Regions from separate parts of the Homo sapiens genome. Here all the other regions are linked to region 5. The links are contacts of gene promoters, found by promoter capture Hi-C in blood cells and fetal thymus (Javierre and others, 2016). All regions are on one chromosome and are shown on one strand. Each heading gives the region's core, a stretch centred on a gene start or on the middle of the fragment in contact. The rest is flanking DNA. Distances are from core to core; before and after follow the strand shown. Region 1 holds the start of ACBD6 (acyl-CoA binding domain containing 6). Region 2 holds the start of TOR1AIP2 (torsin 1A interacting protein 2). Region 3 holds the start of CEP350 (centrosomal protein 350). Region 4 overlaps IVNS1ABP (influenza virus NS1A binding protein). Region 5 holds the start of DHX9 (DExH-box helicase 9). Region 6 overlaps TOR1AIP1 (torsin 1A interacting protein 1).

The links. The method cuts DNA at HindIII sites, captures the fragments that hold promoters and counts their contacts. A CHiCAGO score of 5 or more calls a contact.
Region 1: a contact is called between the fragment with the promoter of ACBD6 here and the fragment with the promoter of DHX9 in region 5, in 3 of 17 cell types (naive CD8 T cells, total CD8 T cells and naive CD4 T cells). The highest score is 7.1, in naive CD8 T cells.
Region 2: a contact is called between the fragment with the promoter of TOR1AIP2 here and the fragment with the promoter of DHX9 in region 5, in 1 of 17 cell types (total CD8 T cells). The highest score is 6.3, in total CD8 T cells.
Region 3: the fragment with the promoter of CEP350 here is called in contact with the fragment with the promoter of DHX9 in region 5 in 6 of 17 cell types (naive CD8 T cells, total CD4 T cells, fetal thymus and 3 more); the score reaches 14.5 in naive CD8 T cells.
Region 4: a fragment that was not itself captured here is called in contact with the fragment with the promoter of DHX9 in region 5 in 1 of 17 cell types (fetal thymus); the score reaches 5.6 in fetal thymus.
Region 6: a contact is called between a fragment that was not itself captured here and the fragment with the promoter of DHX9 in region 5, in 1 of 17 cell types (fetal thymus). The highest score is 5.1, in fetal thymus.

What each region holds. Positions count from the first base shown.
Region 1 is chr1:180,500,948-180,504,616 of GRCh38, forward strand. It overlaps ACBD6 (acyl-CoA binding domain containing 6), which reads right to left and starts at 1,630. Exons shown (of 8, transcript NM_032360.4): 1 at 1,098-1,630. The coding sequence starts at 1,319. RefSeq lists enhancers at 37-552, 553-1,068, 1,176-1,676, 1,198-1,387 and a silencer at 1,598-1,697. The HindIII fragment of the contact is 1,534 bases long and covers 994-2,527 here.
Region 2 is chr1:179,876,308-179,880,125 of GRCh38, forward strand. TOR1AIP2 (torsin 1A interacting protein 2) reads right to left here and starts at 1,496. Exons shown (of 7, transcript NM_001199260.2): 1 at 1,386-1,496; 2 at 932-1,066. RefSeq lists an enhancer at 1,471-1,830. The HindIII fragment of the contact is 9,006 bases long and covers 1-3,818 here.
Region 3 is chr1:179,953,346-179,956,961 of GRCh38, forward strand. It overlaps CEP350 (centrosomal protein 350), which reads left to right and starts at 1,465. Exons shown (of 38, transcript NM_014810.5): 1 at 1,465-1,797. RefSeq lists an enhancer at 1,161-1,662 and a silencer at 1,450-1,899. The HindIII fragment of the contact is 10,111 bases long and covers 1-3,616 here.
Region 4 is chr1:185,305,595-185,309,292 of GRCh38, forward strand. It overlaps IVNS1ABP (influenza virus NS1A binding protein), which reads right to left. Exons shown (of 15, transcript NM_006469.5): 4 at 3,409-3,578; 5 at 3,206-3,281; 6 at 1,895-2,068; 7 at 1,420-1,545; 8 at 1-49. Among named protein-coding and RNA genes, the nearest start is that of IVNS1ABP, 9.8 kb to the right of the region's middle. The HindIII fragment of the contact is 836 bases long and covers 1,072-1,907 here.
Region 5 is chr1:182,838,051-182,841,921 of GRCh38, forward strand. DHX9 (DExH-box helicase 9) reads left to right here and starts at 1,297. Exons shown (of 28, transcript NM_001357.5): 1 at 1,297-1,406. DHX9-AS1 (DHX9 antisense RNA 1) reads right to left here and starts at 1,541. Exons shown (of 2, transcript NR_148933.1): 1 at 1,262-1,541. RefSeq lists an enhancer at 922-1,763 and a silencer at 1,187-1,616. The HindIII fragment of the contact is 6,331 bases long and covers 1-3,871 here.
Region 6 is chr1:179,893,732-179,897,313 of GRCh38, forward strand. The region is part of intron 3 of TOR1AIP1 (torsin 1A interacting protein 1); the gene reads left to right. Among named protein-coding and RNA genes, the nearest start is that of TOR1AIP1, 13 kb to the left of the region's middle. The HindIII fragment of the contact is 755 bases long and covers 1,543-2,297 here.

The DNA of each region.
Region 1 (3,669 bases), core at 380-2,879, 2.3 Mb before region 5:
TAAAAGCTGCTGAACAAATATATGTTGCTTATGATAAAGCAATTATTTTCCTTCTGGTACCAACCAATGTCACCCTGAATTATAAATTAAACGTGTCTATACACCTCCCTATTTCCAGGTAAAGTTCACAGCCTTAGACTGAGTCAGGAGCTACAATCCAGTTCTGACTGATGTATTTGTATGACCCTAGGAAAGGTGCCTACTCTCTATGGCCTTCAGTTTCCTTTACTGTAAAAGAAGGGCATTATTTCCTCTGGTGTTCATAGCTCTAAAATTTTTAGATTGTATCAAACAGAAAGGAAGACATACTCAACGAAAACATAAATCAAAGATATTTAGGATTTTATAAAAATCACAATAAAAGTTGTAATACTGCATTTTGCATTGCATCACATTATTATTATTATTATTATTTGAGGTGGAGTTTCTTCGCTCTTGTTGCCCAGGCTGGAGTGCAATGGCGCACAATCTTCGCTCACCGCAACCTCCGCCTCCTCAGCCTCCCGAGTAGCTGGGATTACAGGCATGCGCCACCACGCTCGGCTAACTTAGTAGAGACGGGGTTTCTCCATGTTGGTCAGGCTGGTCTCCAACTCCCGACCTCAGGTGATCCTCCCGCCTCGGCCTCCCAAAGTGCTGGGATTACAGCCGTGAGCAACCACGCCCAGCCCTGCATCACATTATTACAATCCTATTATCTTTTTGGATCTCTATATAGTTTTATTAACTTTACCGTATTTACTTCCATGTGGCCCTCTGGGAAAGAGTAAATGAATGATATATCTTATTTTATCCTCATTTTGTAAAGGTTCTTGGGCTGGTAAAATGCAAGATCACTGAATAAGTCAGAGAAAAAAACACAAAAACAATGTCCAGTGTCCAGCTAAATAAACATCACTCCTAAGAAAGCAAACATCTTTTCCACGTTCAGGATGATGCTCATCCCCAGCAGATGGTCAAAAAAAAAAAAACAAAACAAAATACACATACACAAGCTTCATTACACCTAGCTATTAACCATACATGCTTGCTATCAGTTGTTGAGGAAGAAGGCTCCGTGTCTTTCTCCCCCATCCACCCTCTCCCTGCTACTTTACCTGTTTGTACCTGGCATACAGGTACAAGAGCTGCTCCCTGCTGGCCACCTGAATCAGGCCTTGCAGGTGCGCGGCAGCCTTCTCAAACAGCTCGGCCAGGCAACTGGTCTCCTCGATCTCAGGGCTATGGGGGAACTCCACCTCCCCGGAGTCGTCCCCTGAGCTCAGCTCTCCACCGCTGTCGCCGGTGATGGCCCCCGCGGGCAGGAATGATGAAGCCATGTCTCCTTGCTCGCTCCGTCCCTCTGTGTCCGGTCTGTCCTCCTTGGATTGGGTGTAAGGCCGGCTTGGAGGCCTGGCCCACCAGTCTGGGTCGCGAGCCTGAGCTCCAGTCGGACCCAAGCTCAGTCGCGGCGCGCTCCCTCACGTGACCCTGCTCCCTGCCCACTTCTACTCCCTGGGCGTGCAGAGCAGGCTCCTCGACCCTCTGCCGCTCTGCCCAGTCGACCCGGTCTCCTCCGGCTTCCCTCCGGCCAACAGCGCGCTCAGGCTCGCCTCAGGCCCCTCCAACGGAACAGGAGTCGAGGGGCAGTGAGGCCGGGATGCGTGCGAGCGCGGGGCGCGGCTGGCGCTGGGCCGTGGGGGCGGGGCGGCGTGCGTGCCAGCGGCGTGCGATTCTGTGAGGCCTGCTCTGCGCCGGCGGGGAAGCGCGGGCGACGCTACGCTGGACGTCCTTCCCTGCCGGAGGAGAGAAAGTGCCGTCAGCTGTAGGGGCGTCTTTTAATCGTTTCGCTGAAATTAGCAGTCCCGAGCTCCGGAGCCCGCCACCGGGATGGGCCCCCGGGGGTGGGGGAAGGAGGCCGTTTGTGTGGTAGTGTAGCGGTGAGAGCGGAGTCGCGGGAAACGCGAGGCTGAGGACTAAGGTTCCGCCTGCCCCAGATTGTGCGCCCCAAGCGCCTCCAAACAGCCCTGCGCGCGGATCTGTTGCGTGCGCGTTGGGCTCTGTGTTGAATAATGAAAAACTGCGAGATGGGGCTGTCCCGTCTTACTGTGTGACTGATGAGTGGAATCACTGCTCTGCGTGTTTCGCTCTCCACACCTTCGGAGCCCGCACCTCTCCGGGCCCTGAATAATAGGGTTTGGGGAGTTCGGGGCGCGCCTTAGCCCAGTTCTCATCCCGAGCTCTGTCTTTGACACTGTGCTTTGTAGACACTGTACAGTGAAACCAGAAGTACGGCACAGTTCGGCCCTAGAGGAATGCACAAAACTATTTTTTTAACTGTAACATTATGAGTGGTTATGTCCTAAATGTTAAACACAACGACGCACTATATATTCATTTAGTATTCAAAACAATGTAATAAGCACTATAAGAAGGGTACAAAGAAAGTGTTGTAAACAGTGGTTATTGACTGGGGTTAGGCTTGCGACGGGTGGACGGACGGCTGGACAGGATGAGGAAGCAATGAGAGAACACAGGAAGGTGAGAAAGCTTGCATCAGGATTCAACAGACATTCCTTAAGTCTCCAGAAAGTTCCACTGTTAGTCCCTGCTGTCAAGGTGCTCGCAATCCAGTCAAAGGGATGTTTAATGACCAAATTCTTGCAATTAAAAAGTGATTAAGAATAATGTATTGAGGACTTGATCATTACAACATAAGGTAGGTACTCTTATTTTACTACACATAGGAAATCAGCACAGAGTGGTTAAGTAACTTGTCAAAGGCTACACAGCTAGCAAATGGAGGAGCAAGGAAAAAGAAGTTAGCTTTCATGTGGGGTAATAATGGATGATGAACCCGACAAGTAGACTGAAGGAGATATAACATGGACTTTTATATCTTTGTTTCTAGAATTTTTATTAAAGTGAGAATTGAATATTATCAACGGCTTTTTTGGCATCTTTGGAGATTATCTGCTTTTCTCCTCTAGTCTTCGAAAGGAATTATATTAACAGTTTCTATTTTAATGAATTATATTAACAAAAATAAATTTGGGATTTAATGAATTATATAATAGCTAACATTGATAAATTAGTATGCATTATTTCAAAACCTCCTAGTTTTGAGCATTACTTCTGTTCTTGGAATAAACCCATTCTGGTCCTGGTTTGGTTTTTTTAAAAAATTTGTAGGTTCAGTTTGCTAATATTTTCATTATCTTTACAGTTCCATTTAAAGATGTCATTAACCTATAGTTTTCCTTTTCTATACTTTCTCAATTTTGTATCAAGGTAATAGAATCCTTGTAGAATGCATTTAGAAGTTTTCATCTTTTTCTGTATTCTGGAAGAGTTTACATAACATGGGAAAGAGAGCAACCAGAATTCTTTTACACTGCTGGTGTGAGCATAAATTGGTACAATCACTGTGGAAAAATGTTTGGCACTATCTACTAAAGCTGAACATAAATATACAACAATTCGACTCCTCCCCAGCGGGAATATATACATGGCATTCACCAAAAACATGTACGAGAACATTCATAGCAGCACTATGAACTAATTCCTAATTGCTCCAAACTGGAAGCTCCTGAATGTCCATCAACACTAGAATGGAGATAAACTGGTGTGCTTACATGATGGAATACTATTCATCAGTGAGAATGAACTAATTACAATGACACAGAATAA
Region 2 (3,818 bases), core at 246-2,745, 3.0 Mb before region 5:
CTACATTCTGAAGTTAATTTATTTATAAATTATTGAAGCTCTCAAGCTAGCATTACCTCTACATTAGGAAAGAAACTAGATAAAATAGTTCTTAAATGAGTCACGCAAGGTTGCGTAACAAACCAGCAGAAAAACAGGTAATCAAGTTGTGGACTGCACGTTCAGCATAATAAACATTACTGAAGACAGGCACTCAGTTTTCATAACAAATGTTAGTTTTTCAAACTATTCTAATCCACACAAAGTCTTCCAAAAACATCTGTAGTTACTCTACCATGAAGTTCCTTTTTTTATTAAATGTTTCCACTGGCCTTTTATATCCTCATCTTGTGCTCAAAAAAAAAAGCTCAAAAAACATGGATAACTGCCACAGCTTAAAACAAAGAAAGGATCTCTCATACAGATCCAAAATAAAATGTGTTAAAACCTAAAGACAGGTAAAACAAAGCCAGTATGTTTAATCTATGTAACTCATTTCTGGATCTGTGTAACAGTATAAAGTCTGATAATTAAGCATTACTCATAAAGTAGAGAGTACTATGAAATTTGTTAAAAGAAGGAAAAGGCACAAACTTTTTCATCAGGTATTAAATACAATTGGGAGAATGGTACATATATAATATGTAAGCAAAATGGTAGGAGGTCTTACTAAAACTTCAACTTTGCCCTTTTTAGCACCAATTTTTTTTTTTTTTAAGTATTATCTTTTCAGGATTAAGATTATGAATGTCGAGAACCTAGGCATGTTGGGAATGGAGTAATCGCCGCCTACACTAGTAGGCAAATTTCCCACTCACATTTCGAACCCTAAAATAATTCGGCTTCTCACCTTAAAGTCTAAACCCAAAAATTTACTCACATCTTAACCCATTTAATATTTATAAGATTCAGTTTCTTTTTATCCCAAAACAAAAATATACCCCCAACCTACCTCGTTTACTGTTTGAGTGAGGCCAGGCGTGGTGGCTCACGCCTGTAATCCCAGCACTTTGGGAGGCTGAGGTGGGAGAATCGCTTGAAGCCAGGAGTTCGAGACCAACCTGGGCAATACAGTGAGACCCTGTCGCTATAAAAATAAAAAATAAAGTAATTAGTAGGGCATGGTGGTGCGGGCCTGTAGTTCCAGCTACTTGGGAGGCTGAGGCGGGAGGATCCCTTGAGCCCAGAAGTATGAGGCTGTGGTGAGCTATGATCACGCCACTGTACTCTAGCCTCGGTGACAGGGCAAGTACCTGTCTCAAAAACAATAAAAATAAAAATACCATTTGTGCGGTACGAAGGTGGGGGTGGGGAGGGACCGTTTCTGAAAGTCCTTTTCAAAAATTCAAGATATCAGTTTCAATACTAAAACATGGAAAAGCTGCATAGTCATTTTGTTTACTTACAAATTCTGGCGAAGTTTTAAATCGTAAAACTGTTAGTATCAGGAGAGCCCTTCGAGTATTCTCTCCGCTCCACACCGCTCGGCTGCACCCAGCGGCCGCCGCGGCCCGAATGTCGTCCAGGGTCCCCGCCCATATGACAAACACTTTCCGCCGGAAGGCGCCCGTGGAATCCTGGGACTAGTAGTCTCCGTGCCCTGCCTTCTGCCTTCTCCATCCTTCACCCTCTACTGCCAGGTCGTCTGACCCAGCGACAGGCGCGGTAAATGCGCGACCAAACCGCAGAGGTCCCATGCAATCTCATGCTGACAGGATTACAGGCATCTCTGTAAGACGTCGACCACCCTGACCTGAAATTCATAGACTGAAGAAACTCATAGGACCAACACAGTGAGCAGCAGTACCAAATGATAATGGCAAGCACCATGTCCTGGAACACACCCTCTGTGCCATTAAGAGGAGCATGTAATCCAATGAGTTGCCTAATCTAAACCTCAGTTTGCTCGTGTGTCAAATGGGGACAACGTTACTTACCTCATAAGTTTGTTATTAGTAGATTAGATGACGTATGCAGCATTTCTGTTAAATGACAGTAGTGACAAAAAATAGCTGTTTTGATCTACTAATTTTATAAATGTGAAAATTAAGAGATGGCGAGCAATTTACCCAAGAACATACAATTTGTTGGGGGAAAAATGAAGTAAGTCTAAAATTCCTGTTCTTGACCTACAGCAATTCAGGACAAATCTAACCAAATTTCAAGAAGAAATCTATTCATGTAAAACTCCCTTCCCCTTTCCTCTTTTTTTTCCCATAACAGTCCTGACCAACACACTATTTTACTTATTTTGATTTTTGCCCGACTCCTCCCATAGAATATAATCTCCAAGAAGGCAGGAAACATTTTTTGTCTTTTAGTCTATTTTGTTCACTGCTGTATCCCCAGCACAGAGAACAGGGACTGCCTACTACACAGTAGCTCAAGTATTTATTGAATTAATAATTCCTCATTTAATGTGATTTTTGGTGCCTTCACTTCTCAATCACCCTCTCTTGGCAGAAGTGACAGGATTTGGTAACACTCTTGGATGGTGTTTAATAATTAACTGCAAGTCCTAATTCAACAAAAAGAATACTATATTCCATTCACTTTATTGTGTTTAATTAATTTCAGTATAACATTTCCAGGAATTTTCATTTGTATTGTCATTAAAATATTTTTCTATCATTTGTAAGACTGGGGAATAAATGGAGCCAGCTACTATGTCTTTAATTAACTTCCTCCTGTTTAATATTTTAATCATCTTTTCCTTATTAAAATTGTTTGCCTACTTCATTTGTACTACTAAGTCACAACGGATAGATTTATCTCTTTAAATAAATGAACTTCTGCTTACCCTAAAGCAAAAAGTTCCTGTACAAAAAATTTATTGTTCTAAAATGTTTCATTTAAAATAATTATTTTGGCCAGGCGTGGTGGCTCACACCTGTAATCCCAGCACTTTGGAAGGCCAAGGCGGATGGATCACCTGAGGTCAGGAGTTCAAGACCAGCCTTGCCAACATGGCAAAATCCATGTCTACTAAAAATACAAAAATTAGCTGGGCATGGTGGCAGGCACCTGTAATCCCAGCTACTCGGGAGGCTGAGGCAGGAGGATCACTTGAACCTGGAGTTGGGGGAGGCTGCAGTAAGCCGAGATTGCACCACTGCACTCCAGCCTAGGCGAAAGAGCGAGACTCCGTCTCTAAATAAATAAATTAATTAAAAATGAAATAAAATAACTGATTTAGGAACCCAGTCTCAAGAGCACAGGATTTCCAGACCTAGCCCTAATAGTTAAGTGTGTGAATTAATGCCATTTAATCTGAATTGTAATTTTTCGTGTTTCTGTCGTTCCCAATAAATGACAAATTCCCTAAAGATAGTCTTCCTCATTGCTGGCACACGTTTGATAAGTAAATGAATTATTAAGTGTATTCTTTGTTTTAATCATTTCTTTTCTTACCGGTCTTCTTTTTTGGGTCACTGAATTCCTCCAGATTTCTCAAATTCCCAAAGTAACTTTAATATCCAGAGCTGAGGCATCCTTTTTTAGTGGCCCAGCGCATCCCTTATAATATTGGCTATGACTCTACTGTCACTGTAATGTCACCTCTTTTCAGCCACTCTTATAGTCTGGATAATAGCTACAGCAGAGTATCTAGTTTCATAACAGTTTAGCTTTGCCTCAGAGCTAGTGATGAAAGTTTCGTATCTGTAAGGTTTCTAGGTGAAGGAGGCAGTCACAGTAGAGGTAGGTTTCCTTATGCTTACAACCTAGATGAGAGGGAAAATCCGATGCATATATATATGTGTGTGTGTGTGTGTGTGTGTGTGTGTGTGTTAGCATTAAAGTTACCATACCTCTAATTTTACAGTAAGTGTCTCATTAAT
Region 3 (3,616 bases), core at 215-2,714, 2.9 Mb before region 5:
TCACTGCAACCTCCGCCTCGCAGGTTCAAGCGATACTCCTGCCTCCGCCTCCCGAGTAGCTGGGATTACAGGCACCCGCCACCACGCCCGGCTAATTTTTGTATTTTTAGTAGAGACGGGGTTTCACCATCTTGGCCAGGCTGGTCTTGTACTCCTGACCTCGTGATCCACCCGCCTCGGCCCCGCAAAGTGCTGAGATTACAGGCGTGAGCCACTGTGACCGGCCAGTACGTGTTTCTTCGTTTTAAAAAAGTGAGTATATTTAATAAGGTGGTTGTTTACATTCAGTAAAATAGCGCATGAAAAGCATCTAACACAGGGCTTTAAACAGCAAGACTGGGCAAAACCTAAATAACATTTTCCTTATGTTGTCTTTTTTGCTACCACTTGCACCATACGATTACCCACATTTCCTGTCCCCTCCAGTGCAGCTTCCTGGAGACACTTCACACGTATGCAGGACTTCTGTACATCCTACTCAGGCACAGCTGTAGGCCCTACAAAGAGGGACCATTTACTGCCTCCTGCTGTCATTGATATTCGACAAACATTTATTGAGCACCTACAATGTCCTAGTTACTGTGCTAGGCCATTTTGGGGTATAGAGAGATAAAACAGATCTTAAAGTCTTCACGACACTTAAAGATGAGAAACAGTCTCTGGGTAAATAACTATCGGAGTTCAGAAGGTGGACAGAAGTGGTGGGCGGCGAGTCTGTGTGCAGTGAGCACCTAGCGGAAGATGGCATTATTTGCAGAAGAGAGGTCCTTTAAGCCAAGTCTTGATAGATGATTTCACCACGCGGAGATTGGGAAACGAGGACAAAGATATGAGAAGATATGTTGGCCACAGAGAGCCTCTCAAAGCACTGTTAAAGCAAAGCCAATACTTAATGGGAGGAAACTCCGTTTTACTTGCGTGGAGTCTTAAGTCATTAGATGCATGCTAAACAGAACTGTAACCCTCGCGAATAAAACGGCCACAGTGACAGCAGTGGGTAACGGCAGAGCTGCAACTACTCTGACAGGGGTGACGACTTATTTGGACGACAGTTGGTGAAACATTGTAAACTCTCAGAAGCTGCCGTTTCCAGACTTTGAGTTCATTCTTGTCGAATCCCCAGCTTGTTTTCTCAGCCCGGGGTGAAATGCGCAGCCAAAAGGCCCAATGAGCGTCAAAGCGAAAGGGCAGGGGTGGTCTCTTCTGCGGATATACCTTGGCTCCTCCCAAGTCCTACGAGTTTAAACTTCGACGCACCAAACATGGCTTCTTCGCGGTTCTGCTCCTTGTTTTATTTCGCTCCCACCTTTCGGCCACACTCAACATGGCCCTAACCGAAGGTTGGCATGCCTGTGGCACTGTCTCGGGACAGTTCTCGCGAGGTTTGCCTGGGCCCGACTGCTCCCGCCCTGCCTCGCGCCGCCGCCACAGCCGCTGCCGCTGGCGCCGCTCCTCCTCCGTGTCAGTTGTTGGGCTGTAATGGCGACTGGGCCGCCCCTGACGAAGTGACTCCCGGGCCGGGGAGCGGGGCCAGACCTGCGCCAGAGAGAACTGCAGGGAGCCGCAGCTCGGGGGGTGGCTTGCCCTGAGGGAGGGGAGGCAGCCTTTCCGCCTTGTCTTCCTTCCCAGCGGACCGGCGGATCCCCGGAGCCGGTGCGAGGAGGGCACCCGGTGCGTCCCCGGAGCGGGGAGGCCAGGCCGGGCAGCCCTGGGGCCGGTCGGGGCGGCGTCACTGCACCCTCCGCCAGGCTCCGCGGGATGCACCGTGGTAGCCGAGGGCGGAGGCGACACTCTCAGGTGAGCTCCTGTAGGACCTGGCTGGGACCGCGGAGTCTCGCTCAGCCTCAACTGTCTCTGTCCGCGGTCCCGGGTCCCCGGTGGCGGCAAGAGAGGCGGGGCCGGGCGCGGAGAGTCTTGGCCCTGCTTGGCGTCCCCCTCGGGGAACCTCCCTGGGTTCTGAGGCTTTTCGGGGACCTAGGTTTCGGGTCCCACCAGTGCCTGCTGAAGACGGAATTTCCTTCCTTACGTGCCAGTGTCCTCCCGCCTCCTCCACCCCTCCTCTAGCCTGCAGAGGTAAGATACCTCTAGCCTTTGCTGCCCGGAGAAGTGTCCCTTCTTCATCTGGCGATCAGGCGTATTTGGGGAGATTCCGGGGACTGGCTCCAGTGGCAGGGATGATCAGTTTCTGTTCCTTTTCAGTGGGGATCACATTCTCAAGTATAGGGAAAACTTTGATCTACTCTAGTCTAGCGGCTGCTGAAGGTAGTTTATTCACAGATAATTTGGGGAAAGATTTAAAAGGCTTTATGTTTTGGAAGTTGTCAGTATTTTCCTCTGCCTTTTAAATGCAGCTCAACATGCTAAGTAATATTTAGCTAATGTCACAAGATATGAATTGGAATTTGCCTGGATTTTAAATATTCAGATAGAAAGTTGCACATAGGCATAGATTTTAATGTTTTAATGCAGTAGCAAATCCTTCATATGGGAAAAAACAGGTTGTCAGAAATAGTGATCAATATCCATGTACTCCACCTGATTGTTTTGTTTTGATGGTGATCCTTGTTTTGAATTTGGGGAAGTCGTTATTGTTGCCATGTTAACGATACCTCCTGCCCTGTATTTGAAGAGTTTTAAAAGAAAGACTATCTTTGGCAGAGCTAGTAACAATCTGAAAAGTTCTGTAGAAACAATGATAAAATACTAAAAGTTGCCCTCCATTCTGAAAATTTCTTCGTTTAATATATTGTTTTTAAACAAGGAAATGCACTGCTAATGACATGGAATTGTGACTTTGAGGGATTGTTAGACCCATGCTGGAAGTTGCTTCAAAGCCATGGGCGTATAATAATTAGTTTCGGTGTGCTAAATTGACAAATTTTATTTAATGTAATGAAATAAATCTGAATCATTTGAACTGTCAGTGCATTAAATTTAAGATACTGTAATCTGAAAATAAACTTCAAGCTAGAATACATTGTATATGTGGATAAATACATGTGTATCTCTGTATCTCTTCATCCTCAGTAGCAAAATTTTGTGTATGTAGAGATGGCAAGTTGTATATGTAAAAAATTTCATACGTATGTGAACATATTTCTTTGATTTTCTGAGATAAATTGGTGTGTGTGTCATGTAAGAGCGTTAATACTTAAACAGCCAACCTTCTGTGGGGCAATCAATTTATGAATTATAAAGTTTTTGGATTTTTTCCTTCTGCTTCTGATTGTCAGTCTTTTGCCCATTTTATAACACTTCTACCATATATGAGCAGAAGAAAGGAGATGAAGTACTGCTATAATCAATTTTATTTGTTAAATTGCTATAATTTATAGTGGGAGCAAAAAAGAAGTCTAAAATAACTGACATCAGTTTTTGGTGTGCTTCTATATACATTATTTTATTTAGTTTTCACAGTGATCTTGTGAAGTAGGTATGGCAGATATCCTTATTTTGCAGTCGTGGAAACTGACACACAAGGAAGATCATTTATGTGAATGCCTCTCATTTCTGCAGATAATGTGGAATTATTTTTATTTTAAACTAAATATTAATATAGGTGCTCTGGCATTTGGTGTTATTTTAAAATATTAAAAAATTATTCTATTTTTGTTCC
Region 4 (3,698 bases), core at 240-2,739, 2.5 Mb after region 5:
GGTTCCCATCAAGCAGCTTGTGATCAGCTGAGTAGTACAAGGTTTGAACCTGCAAAACAGCAACAGAACACCCATGTGGCTACGGTCACCATGGCTACTCCACTAGTATGCAGATTACACAAACGCCTCAAGGTAACCTCCAGTGTGCTTCTTGAGCTTCTTGACATATTACTCTGGCAGGATCCGGAGGTAAAGAAAAATACATGTCATGGTGGTAAAAATTAAAAAACAAAAACAAAAAACCAAAATCAAATACAAAATCTTCCAATACTGGCTGAAGAGTCGTTGGCTTGATTGGCTTGAAAGAAATCTTCATTTTTTTCATAGCTTCTATCATATAACAGTAAGAAAAAAAGCACTAGTACAATATATACTCTTAAAGAATATACATATTTACAATAAAATACTGAATATAGTTTACACCTTTGCAGATAAGTGGTCTGGTTTGCATAAACATATTTCCTTCCTGTAAGCAATGTCAAGAAAAACAAAGAAAAAACAAATGCAAAAATTCAAGCAAGCTGTAGAGTCATCTCCATTGAGACAGATGCAAATACATGGCAAATGCATCTGACTTTCAAGTGGGAATCATAGAATTTAAAGATAATCTGTTAGCCCTTTTAGACCATAATGATGACAGTGTTTCTGCAGGCCTAACAGATTTGGTAAGCCCTCATAAAGGAACTCCGAAAGGTTTAAGTGGAGAGAGAAACTCAAGGTTACTCCACTGCTCCACCTGCGTGTTTTCAATTCCCACCATTTCTCCATCAATTTTATCTTGTGTATTTTTTTTAAAAGTAGCCCAAGTTAAGTGAGTGACTATATGTATGAACAACACCATTGAAAAACACACAGCTTTAAAGACAAGAATCCTGTAAAGGAGTAAACACCATTAAATCATCATCGTTCTCTGCCCACAGCGGATTTTTCTTAGGAGAACTGGGGCAGGACTGCTGCTTCTTTACGTGTCAATACACTTGAGGTTTCTTCTTGTTTCTTCAGTCTTGGGTATCCTAGTTTTGTTAATAAACCTATGGGGAGATAAATCAATGGGGAGGAACAACCATTAGAAGCTTTTACCTACTTGTCAAATTTAAAGCAAAAACCTGTGAAGAAAAATTAAGAATCTACAGAAAATTTCAGTACCACTTCCCATTTCTAAAGCAAATTACATGCTACTTTAAAGAAAGTTAACAGCACATAATAAGCAAAGAAATAAAAAAAGAAAAGCAGAAGACCAAACTGAACAGTTCATTCAGCTCACCTGGACACCCCCCCTGTTTCTCAGCTTAGGGGTACCTATAGCAAAATTTAAATTCTTTAGGGTCATGGTTATAAAATAAAAGTGAAAGGGAATCCTTCATGTTATAGCAAAATAATTTTTAAAAATGGTTGAATCCCATTTACTTTAAAACTAACCTCTTCCATCAGCTCTTCCAGACTGTCTCCATTCTCCCAGATGCTACGCTGCACCCAGTTGATTACCTTTGTATATAATTTGCCATTGCTGGGCAAGCAAACATTATCTTCAAGCATTACCTCCAACTAGAATTGGGAAAAACAATGACATGGATCAGTGTTGGGCTCCTAGTTCTCAGCTTAATTCCCAATTTCATAATAAAGTTGTCACAGATGCACAATTCATTCCATACATTTACTCTAATTTGTAAGGAACCAGGAATTTGTAAGGAACCAGGAATTTGTAAGGAATTTGATTACTGAATCAAAAACAAAGTAAACAAACTGGTAGGGAGAAACCCATTACGCTGCTAAGAATAACAATATAATTTCAATGTATTATTTCATAATCATTACTCACTTGCTTGAAACACAGACCAAGATTCCACGCCTGGAACTAGATAGTATATATCTGTTTATAGACTTTACTCCTTACCTTTAGCCTTGGAAGCTTAAGAAACTCCTCCTCTTCAGAAATTTGTAACAAATGCTCCTGAATATAAGCATCAACCTTATTCAACAAACGGGAGTCTCCCATACAACTTGCAAAATTTCGGTAAGAGATGCAGCTGGTAACATCCATTCTAGACAGTAAATAATCACCACAAACCTTGGAAAAGAAATATATGAGTGCCAACACTTACATATCTTTTATTCAACAAATATTTAATGTTCAGTGTGGTAAAGACTATGTGAAGATACAAAGAATCAAAAATCACTGTCTTAATACAACAAATGTTAATAGTGGTAATAACACGTATACAAATGATAAACATCTAATTATGCCATACAGATATGTAAGTTTTAGTTTAAGGAGAGGTACAACAAATTGAAATGCTATGTAAGTTCACATAAGTATTTTCAAGTAGAATAATTTGGTAAGGCTTCATGAAACGCAGTATCTGAACTGGGCTCTACAGGAGAGATGATGTTGATGTTGAATGCAGACAGAAGTAGAGAAGATGCTGCAAACAATTTAATTTGGTTGGAGAAAAGATAACTAGGAAATAGTTTTGGAAAGACAGCAACTATATAAGGGAAAATCTAGAAACTAAATGCAGGGATATGTACTGTAAATTAAGGAAGGATTTTTGAACAAAGGAGTGGTATTAGAAGAAGGGCTAGCAAATCAAACTTTTTCTTAAAGGGCCAGATAGTAAAAGCATTTTAGGCTTGTAGGCCATTCTGTTTGTCACAACTGCTCAATTCCGTCACTGTAGCTGGAAAGCAGTGTAGACCATATGTAAATGAACACACATGGCTGTGTTTGAATAAAACTTTATAAAAATAGGCAGCTGGCCAGTAGGCCTTAAGTTTACTGACCCCCATGCATTAGGGGATTAAATGCCTGTTTTCCAAAAGTACTTTTTACTGGCATTAAATTCTAGAAGGAATACTTTTAGAGAGCACAGGAAGTTTAGGAGAACACAGAATTGAGGATATAAGTTATGTGATTAACTCTTAAGAAAAATATTAATTTTAATTCATGCTATCAAAGGCTGACATAGCCACCCTACCAGAGAAGATTGCTGAAAGGGTCAGACTTCAGCCCAAATTATCTGAGAAGAAGTGTGATCTTGCTACATTATTATAGCCAAACAGTTAAAATAACATATTGACTACTCTGAGGGAAAAAAGGGACATGTTCAAGTCCTTGAAACTAACAAGATGTTTTATGACAAATTCAGCATTGCAATCACACAAAATAAGACTCCATAAATGATTTTATTTACTTCTGATACTCTACCTGCTTTACTCGATCCATCTTCAGCTTTTTTGCTGCAGAATAAACATCTTTTACCAATTCCTTATCTGCTTTCAACCTATTTAAAAAAAAAGTTACTTATGATACCAAAGCCTTAAAACACACTTAATTTAAATATATGTAGCAAGACTTGGAATTTTCTGAAGATATTCCCTAATTATATGGTTTACTTCAAATGTACTTACTGAGCAGTGTAGGCATAATTCAACAAGACTTCAACAGCTTCTGGATTGAGATCATCAAATTTAACGTGAGAAATTCCATGAGGATCACTATCACTATTAAAGATTTCAAATAAATAGGGACTGCAGCAAGCTAGCACTGCTCTGTGTGCTAACATTTCATGGCCACAGACCTGAAATTATGAAGAATTATAATTATAAGTATTGTGGATTATGTGCTTCTCTAGCTAATTACTATATCAGATTCCTTTATCTTACATTTCTCAGTATTCTTTTAAAAAATCATTTCATTA
Region 5 (3,871 bases), core at 47-2,546:
TTTTAAGAATGACAGTTTTAAAGGGAGTGATCACTATCAGCTAGAAGGATTAAGAAAAACATAAGGAAAGAGGTGAAAAATAAAGATCCATAGATATAATGAGCCCAGATAATTGATTAGTCTGGATTCCCTGGAACAATCCCAGCTGGAAATGTTTTGTATCATTACCTTCATGGGACGCACTGGAGTTTCAAAATTTAACAGTGACTAGTATAATAATTAAGGACACAATTATTCCAAAGACTTGGAACACAAAATTACTCCAAAGACTTGGAACACAAAAGGTTATCCAATTTAAACAAAAGCAACCTTGCAGATTTTATTCCTACCTTAAAGTAGTTTGCTGAGCACTTACAGTAATGTTCCAGGCACGGCAAGGAGCGACCTGCGTTAGCCAGGCAGAATGCCCGCCTTCACTGAGCTTATTTCTTTCATGGTTTTTTTTTTTTTTTTTGAGACGGAGTCTCGCTCTCTCGCCCAGAAAATGGCGTGATCTCGGCCCACTGCAACCTCCGCCTCCGCCCCCGACCCCGGGGTTCAAGCGATTCTCCTGCCTCAGCCTCCCGAGTAGCTGGGATTGCAGGAGCCCGCCCAGCCACCCAAGCAGCTGGGATTGCAGGCGCCCGCCCCCATGCCCGGCTAATTTTTGTATTTTTTTTTTTTTTTTTAGTAGAAACGGGGTTTCACCACGCTGGCCAGGCTGGTCTCAAACTCCTGACCCCAAGTGATTCGCCCACCTCGGCCTCCCAAAGTGCTGGGATTACAGTCACCACGCCCGGCCAGTTTATTTCTTTCAAGAGACACTGGCGTTCAGACTATCTGAATCAATCCGGTAACTACGCCCACTGAACACCTACTACATGCCAGGTATTGAACTAAGCCGCCCTTCATATGCCATCTCATGTAATTATCTCAACAACCCTACCAAGTTAGCAGCAAGGTTTCCAGTTCTGCCTTCGAAGGGAACCTCCTCTCACCGGAGATCCCTATGACAGACCCTGCGAAATATTTTGCTGCATCAGAATGCTACAGGCCGTCAACTCCCTAACATGCGCAAAAGCGGGCAGCCGATTATCCAGGGTAGTGGATTATCCAGGAGAGTGGATTATCCAGAGTAGCAGGTCTGGCGCGATGCCCGCCCGGCTCAGCCCATCTCCCTAGCAACGAAACCCTTCCGCGCCGCGAGGTTGCTGAGCCCCGCCCCCTCCATTGGCGCGCCCTCGCCATCCCCCGCCCTGGCACGCGCTCTGCGCATGCGTACGCTCGCTGGCCCCGCCCCCTAGCGCCGCGGTCGGAGCCATTTCGCCGATTCCTCCATGCGAGTTGCTGTGCGTTTCTCTGTTGTCTCGGTAGAAGGCCAGAGTCACACACGGTCCTAAGAGCTGGGCACCAGGAAGCGAAGGCTGGTAAGGGAGAGACGTTCCGGCTACCATGCGGGGCGGCGGGGTCGCGGGCGGGCGCCGTGGACCATGGCTCCGCAGCCGGCTTTGTTGCGAAGCGCGGGCGGCGGCGGCGGCTGGGGGTGGGGGAAGGGACGAGCCGCCCGCGGGTCCCCGGATTGCGGGTTGCGTGCGCGCCTCGCCGCGATGCGCTTGCGCCGTCCGGGCAGCCTGTGGCCCCCTCCCCTCTCCTCCGCCCAGCGTTTCCCGCTGCTGCCTCTAGCAGGCAAAGCGCGCTTCCTCCTCTGGCCTGCGTACGCCGGGGCACCGCGGCGGCTGAGGGAAGGGGGTGCTTCGCCTGTGGTGGTTGCCGCCGGGGCGCCACTGGCCTAGGGCTCTTCATTCATTCAAGCCACGAATAACTGGCGCCGTCGTGCAGGCCTTGTGGGTAGAGGAAAAAAAATTGAAGAATGTAAAGGGAGAGCGCCTTTGGCTAGTATAGCGAGGTAAGGCGTCTCGAAGGAGGGAGGCTTTGAGCTGATAACCTCGGCCAACGCGAAGGAAAAGCAGAGCCTGCAGAAGCGGAAGGGATTAGTTATCGCTTAAGGGCAGAAACTGGGCGGGAGCTGAAAGCAGGCCATGTGACTGGAGTGTGGCGAGAAGGCCTTCAAAGGAGAATGGGTTTTAGGGTGGCAAGAGTGGAAACAAAAACCGTGTAGGACAATATTTCACTAGCCCGGGTGTGCAGTAGTGGTGGCAGGAGAGATGGGGAGAAACGAATGGATAGGGGACGTATTTTGAAGCAGAAATGCGTAGTGGTGGAAGGTAGTAGATCTGGAGTCAGGCTACGTTTTCTGGAATTCTTGCGCCTTTTTTTTTTTTTTTTTTTTTGCAAGAGTCTCGCTCTGTCGCCAGACTGGAGTGCAGTGGCGCGATGGCGGCTCACAGCAACGTCGGTCTCCCGGGTTCAAGTGATTCTCCTGCCTCAGCCTCCGGAGTAGCTGGGACTACAGGCGCGCGCCACCACGCCCAGCTAATTTTTGTATTTTTAGTAGAGACGGGGTTTCATCATGTTGGCCAGGATGGTCTCGATCTCTCGACCTCGTGATCCGCCTGCCTTGGCCTACCAAAGTGCTGGGATTACAGGCGTGAGCCTCCGCGCCCGCCCGAATTCTTGCTCTTATAATTAGGAGCTCTGTCTTCCTGAAGCAAGATATTCTTTGTCTCAGTTTCCCCTTCTCTAAAGGGATAGTGATCTTACCTGTACAAGGTTACTAAGGATTAAGTAAAATAGTTCCATTTAGATGATCTATTATGGATATTGTTTGACACACATTAAGGGTTCTACAAGGGATAGCTATGGAGAATCTTAAGGGAGTGGACGACTCTCAACTTGTGCCAGGAGTAACTTGGTGGATGTCGTACCGTTTATGGAAACCGAAATGTAGGGGTAGGGTGTTGGAACAGATTTGAGGGGAAATTTAAAATTCTGTTTTGACTGAGATGCCAAGTTAGCATGCAAATGGGTGAGTTAGTGCCACAGTTGGATGAACTTAATTTTGGACTTTAAAGAGAAACGACGGGCGGGCGCGGTGGCTGACGCCTGTAATCCAGCACTTCGGGAGGTTGAGGCGGGCCGATCAAGAGGTCAGGAGATCAAGACCATCCTGGCCAACACGGTGAAACCCCGTGTCTACTAAAAATACAAAAAATTAGCTGGGCGTGGTGGCGGGCGCCTGTTGTCCCAGCTACTCGGGAGGCTGAGGCAGGAGAATCGCTTGAACCTGGGAGGCGGAGGTTGCAGTGAGCCAAGATCTCGCCCCTGCACTCCAGCCTGAGCGACAGAACGAGACTCCGTCTCAAAAAAAAAAAGAGAGAAAAGACTAAAGTTTAAATATATGTATTTGGGCATCGATAGCATGTAGTTGGTATTGAACATTATGGGGTTGTAAGAGACTAGGGAGACAGGAGTTTGATAGTATAGTCCTTCGTATTTCATATTACTCATTCACCATGAGGGCTTGTTGTTTAATTATTCACGAGGTGGAATTTCCAGATAAACATTTTCAGCTTTCCACGGCTTTTTTGTTAATAGGACATTCCCTTCGCCAAATGGATGACCAGAGTTAGACTGTGGCCACTCAGACGTAACAAATTTATGCTAGGGGTGCAGTTTGATGACGTTAGACTTAGGTGCTAACAAAATGCATCAAACGTGAAACGTGAAGCAGACGGTTTAATGCTGGTAATGGGATTTCTTCTCACAGCAAACTAAATTCATAGCATATTTTATTTTCTCTGGTTATAAATGTGGTCTCATATCTTGCTTACAGTTTAGACTCAGCATTTAGACTGATAGGCTCCATATCTTGTGGTATTTTATAGACTTGTTGCACTTCAAGAAAACTTTAATATCCTCAAATTTTAATAAAAAGGCCTAAAGGAGAGATTTGGTATAGAACATTTAAGTTAATAGGTTACCGTCTTCAGTA
Region 6 (3,582 bases), core at 670-3,169, 2.9 Mb before region 5:
ATGCCCAGCAGATAGTCTTAAAACTATCTGTACCAGGGGTTAGCAAGCTACCGCTTCTGGGTGAAATTGGCCTACAATCTTTTTAATCAGCCCATGAACTAAGAAGGAATTTTTACACTGCTGAAAAAGACAAAGCATGTAACAGAGACCTTATGTGACTCACAAAGCTTAAAATATCTACTATTTAGTCCTTTATAAAAAAAGTTTGCTGACCCCTGATTTATACTGATGGCAAGAATAAAGACAACAAGGCCGGGCACGGTGGCTCACACCTGTAATCCCAGCACTTTGGGAGGCAGAGGCGGGCGGATCACGAGGTCAGGAGATTGAGACCATGGTGAAACCCCATCTCTACTAAAAATACAAAAAAGTAGCTGGGCGCAGTGGCGGGCACCTGTAGTCCCAGCTACTTGGGAGGCTGAGGCAGGAGAATGGCGTGAACCCGGAAGGCAGAGCTTGCAGTGAGCCGAGATCCCGCCACCGCACTCCAGCCTGGGCGACAGAGCGAGACTCTGTCTCAAAAAAAAAAAAAAAAGAATAAAGACGACAAATCACGCAAATGGTCATTTGTTTGTTGTCAGAGTAAATTCAGGAGTTATATACTTGCTCGAACATATATTTATTACAACACTCCATACTAGGTTGTACCCAGAGCACAAGAAGAAAGGAAACAAGCTGGGCCTGGTGGCTCATGCCTGTAATCCCAGCACTTTGGGAGGCTGAGGTGGACGGATCACCTGAGGTCAGGAGTTCAAGACTAGCCTGGCCAACATGGTGAAACCCTATCTCTACTAAAATTACAAAAAATTAGCCAATTGTGGTGGCAGGCACCTGTAATCCCAGCCACTTGGGAGGCAGGCAGGAGAATCGCTTGAACCTGGGAGGTGGAGGTTGTAGTGAGCCGAGATCGTGCCATCGCACTCCACTGTCGGCAACAAGAGCAAGACTCCATCTCAAAAAAAAAAAGAAAGGAAGGAAGCAATGACTCCTGTGTTCTATCCAGTATTCCTTTGAGAAAGCACAGTAGTCTTATTTATATTTTCATGTCTTTGTCCCCAGACAAAACACAAAGTAAGCCAAGTTTATGTTTTCTTGAGTGGCCTTTGCTCCTCACACCAAGTACCTCCCACAAATTTCTAGGAATAGCAAAATCTACAGGAGAAATGTAGATGCTTTGGCACCTGGGCTTTCAAAATAACTAGGGAATTTTATAAGTTGTAAAAGGCCGGGTTATACCTAAGGTTTGAATTCCTTAAAAACTGGCCAAGTAAAAGAAAGTAAACAAAGTGGCACAATTAATGCTTGGTTTTCACTAGAGGCGATGACTGTTAAGTGATCTATCTTAAACATAAAGACCTCGGACTTCTGAAAGTAGCTTTTCCTAATTGGTTGAGGTTACTGGAAAATATAACACCTTCTTAAACAGCATGTTTAATTATTACCATTTGTCTATATATTTGCTAAAGCCACAGCCTTTATGATTTCTTTAATAATGTTTTAATATTAAGGATTTTTTGCTCAAAATATGATTTTAATTCTCAAAGCTTCTGTATGAACATTGGGAAGAGTAATACCTTTTTTAAAAAAGTATTTTTTTAAGGCCAGGCATGGTGGCTCATGCTTGTAATCCTAGCTGTTTGGGAGGCCAAGGCAGGTGGATCGCTTGAACCCAGGAATTTAGCCTGGGCAATGTGGCGAAACCTCGTCTCTACAAAAAAATGCAACTGTTAGCTGGGTGTGGTGGCACGTGCCTATATTCCCAGTTACTTGGGAGGCTGAGTCTGGAGGATCACTTGAACCCAAGACACAGAGGTTTCAGTGAGCAGAGATTGTGCCACTGCACTCCAGCCTAGGCGACAAAAAGAGACCTTGTCTCAGAAAAAAGAGGCCGGGCACGGTGTCTCACACCTGTAATCCCAGCACTTCGGGAGGCCGAAGCAGGTGGATCACCTGAGATCAGGAGTTCAAGACCAGCCTGGCCAACATGGCGAAACCCCGTCTCTACTAAAAATACAAAAATTAGCCGGGCATGGTGGCACAAGCCTGTAGTCCCAGCTACTCGGGAAACTGAGGCAGGAGAATCACTTGAACCCGGGAGAATCACTTGAACCCGGGAGGCAGAGGTTGCAGTGAGCCGACATTGCACCACTGCACTCCAGCCTGGGTGACAGAGTGAGACTCTGTCTCAAAAAAAAAAACAAAAACAAAAAACAAAATCTAATGCTTTAACTTTCGACATGTAGCAGCCAAGTTTAAAATAGAGGTAGGTGAAAAACAAAAGAGGGAAATGAAATTAAAGCTTATGTAGTCATGGCTACTGATTCATCATCAGATCGCACTTAAATATTTATTTCCATTCTTTGCAGCTTGGGTAAAAAGGTGGAATGTTTAAAACCTTGCAGGTATCTAATTATTAAGCACTAATTTCAGACTTTTTAAGTTGCTAAGTAACGTTAATCATAGTATGAGAAATATTAGCAAAAATCTGGACTTAACATCTTTATTCTATAATCATAAAATCTATTTTATTCATGGAACAAACTTTTTTTATTTTTATTTTTTTTGAGACAGGGTCTCACTCTGTCACCCAGGCTGGAGTGCAGGAGCGTGATCTCGGCTCACTGCAACCTCCGCCTCAAAGTGCTGGGATTACAAGGCATGAGCCACCATGCCCAGCCAAACATTTTTAAACACCTTCTTTATGTCAGTGACCGACCTAAGTGCTAGGATCATAAATAGCCATTCAGGTTTTTTTTTTTTCCTACCTCTTAGATGTACGTGATGTAATGGAAGAGAAAAACAAGTTTACAAATCTTTTTTTTTTTTAAGTGCTGAAATAGTGACATATGTCTGCGGGATCCTAGACGAGAAGCACCCTACTCAGTGGAAGAGGTTGAGGCGGTTTTATGAGTTGGAAATGACATTTGGATTGAATTTTGAGGGATGAATAGCAGGCAGAATGAGGACGGAGACTTGCAAATACTACAGTTTGCTTTATAATAGACATTTTACCTTTAGAGAGCATGCAATATGAGAAATTAAAGTCTTTTATATTACAGACAATACTCTCACACTAGCCATAATTCTTTATCTGAGACGTTAAATAATGTTTAGAATGACATTCGAAATCATAGCAGGCTTGGGTTTCTTGAGCTTTGTTTACCAGAATGAAAACCTTGTTTTAAAATGTATCTGTAGCCAAGACAGTAGATAACCTGATTCAATAATGATTGATTGTCAAATCTACGGGGATTATTATTATTTAAGATCTAATTCATAGATATTATTGGATTATAAAACACAAAATAGTACTTTTTTTGTTTTTAGTGATGGGATCAAGATAGCATTGCATAACTAGTTATTCTTGTTTTGAATACTATTGATAAATATTTATTGTTAGGAACATAGAATTCTAAAAAAGGATCTTTAGTCACTAGATTAAATCCAGAAGTCTGAAAAGTGTTGAAAAATGGATAGAATCCATGATTTATTAGATACTTCAAATATAATAACATGTTAGAAGTATTAAAATCAAATGGGGAGCTCCCTTATGTAAGCTGGCTAAAAAATAATTATTAAACC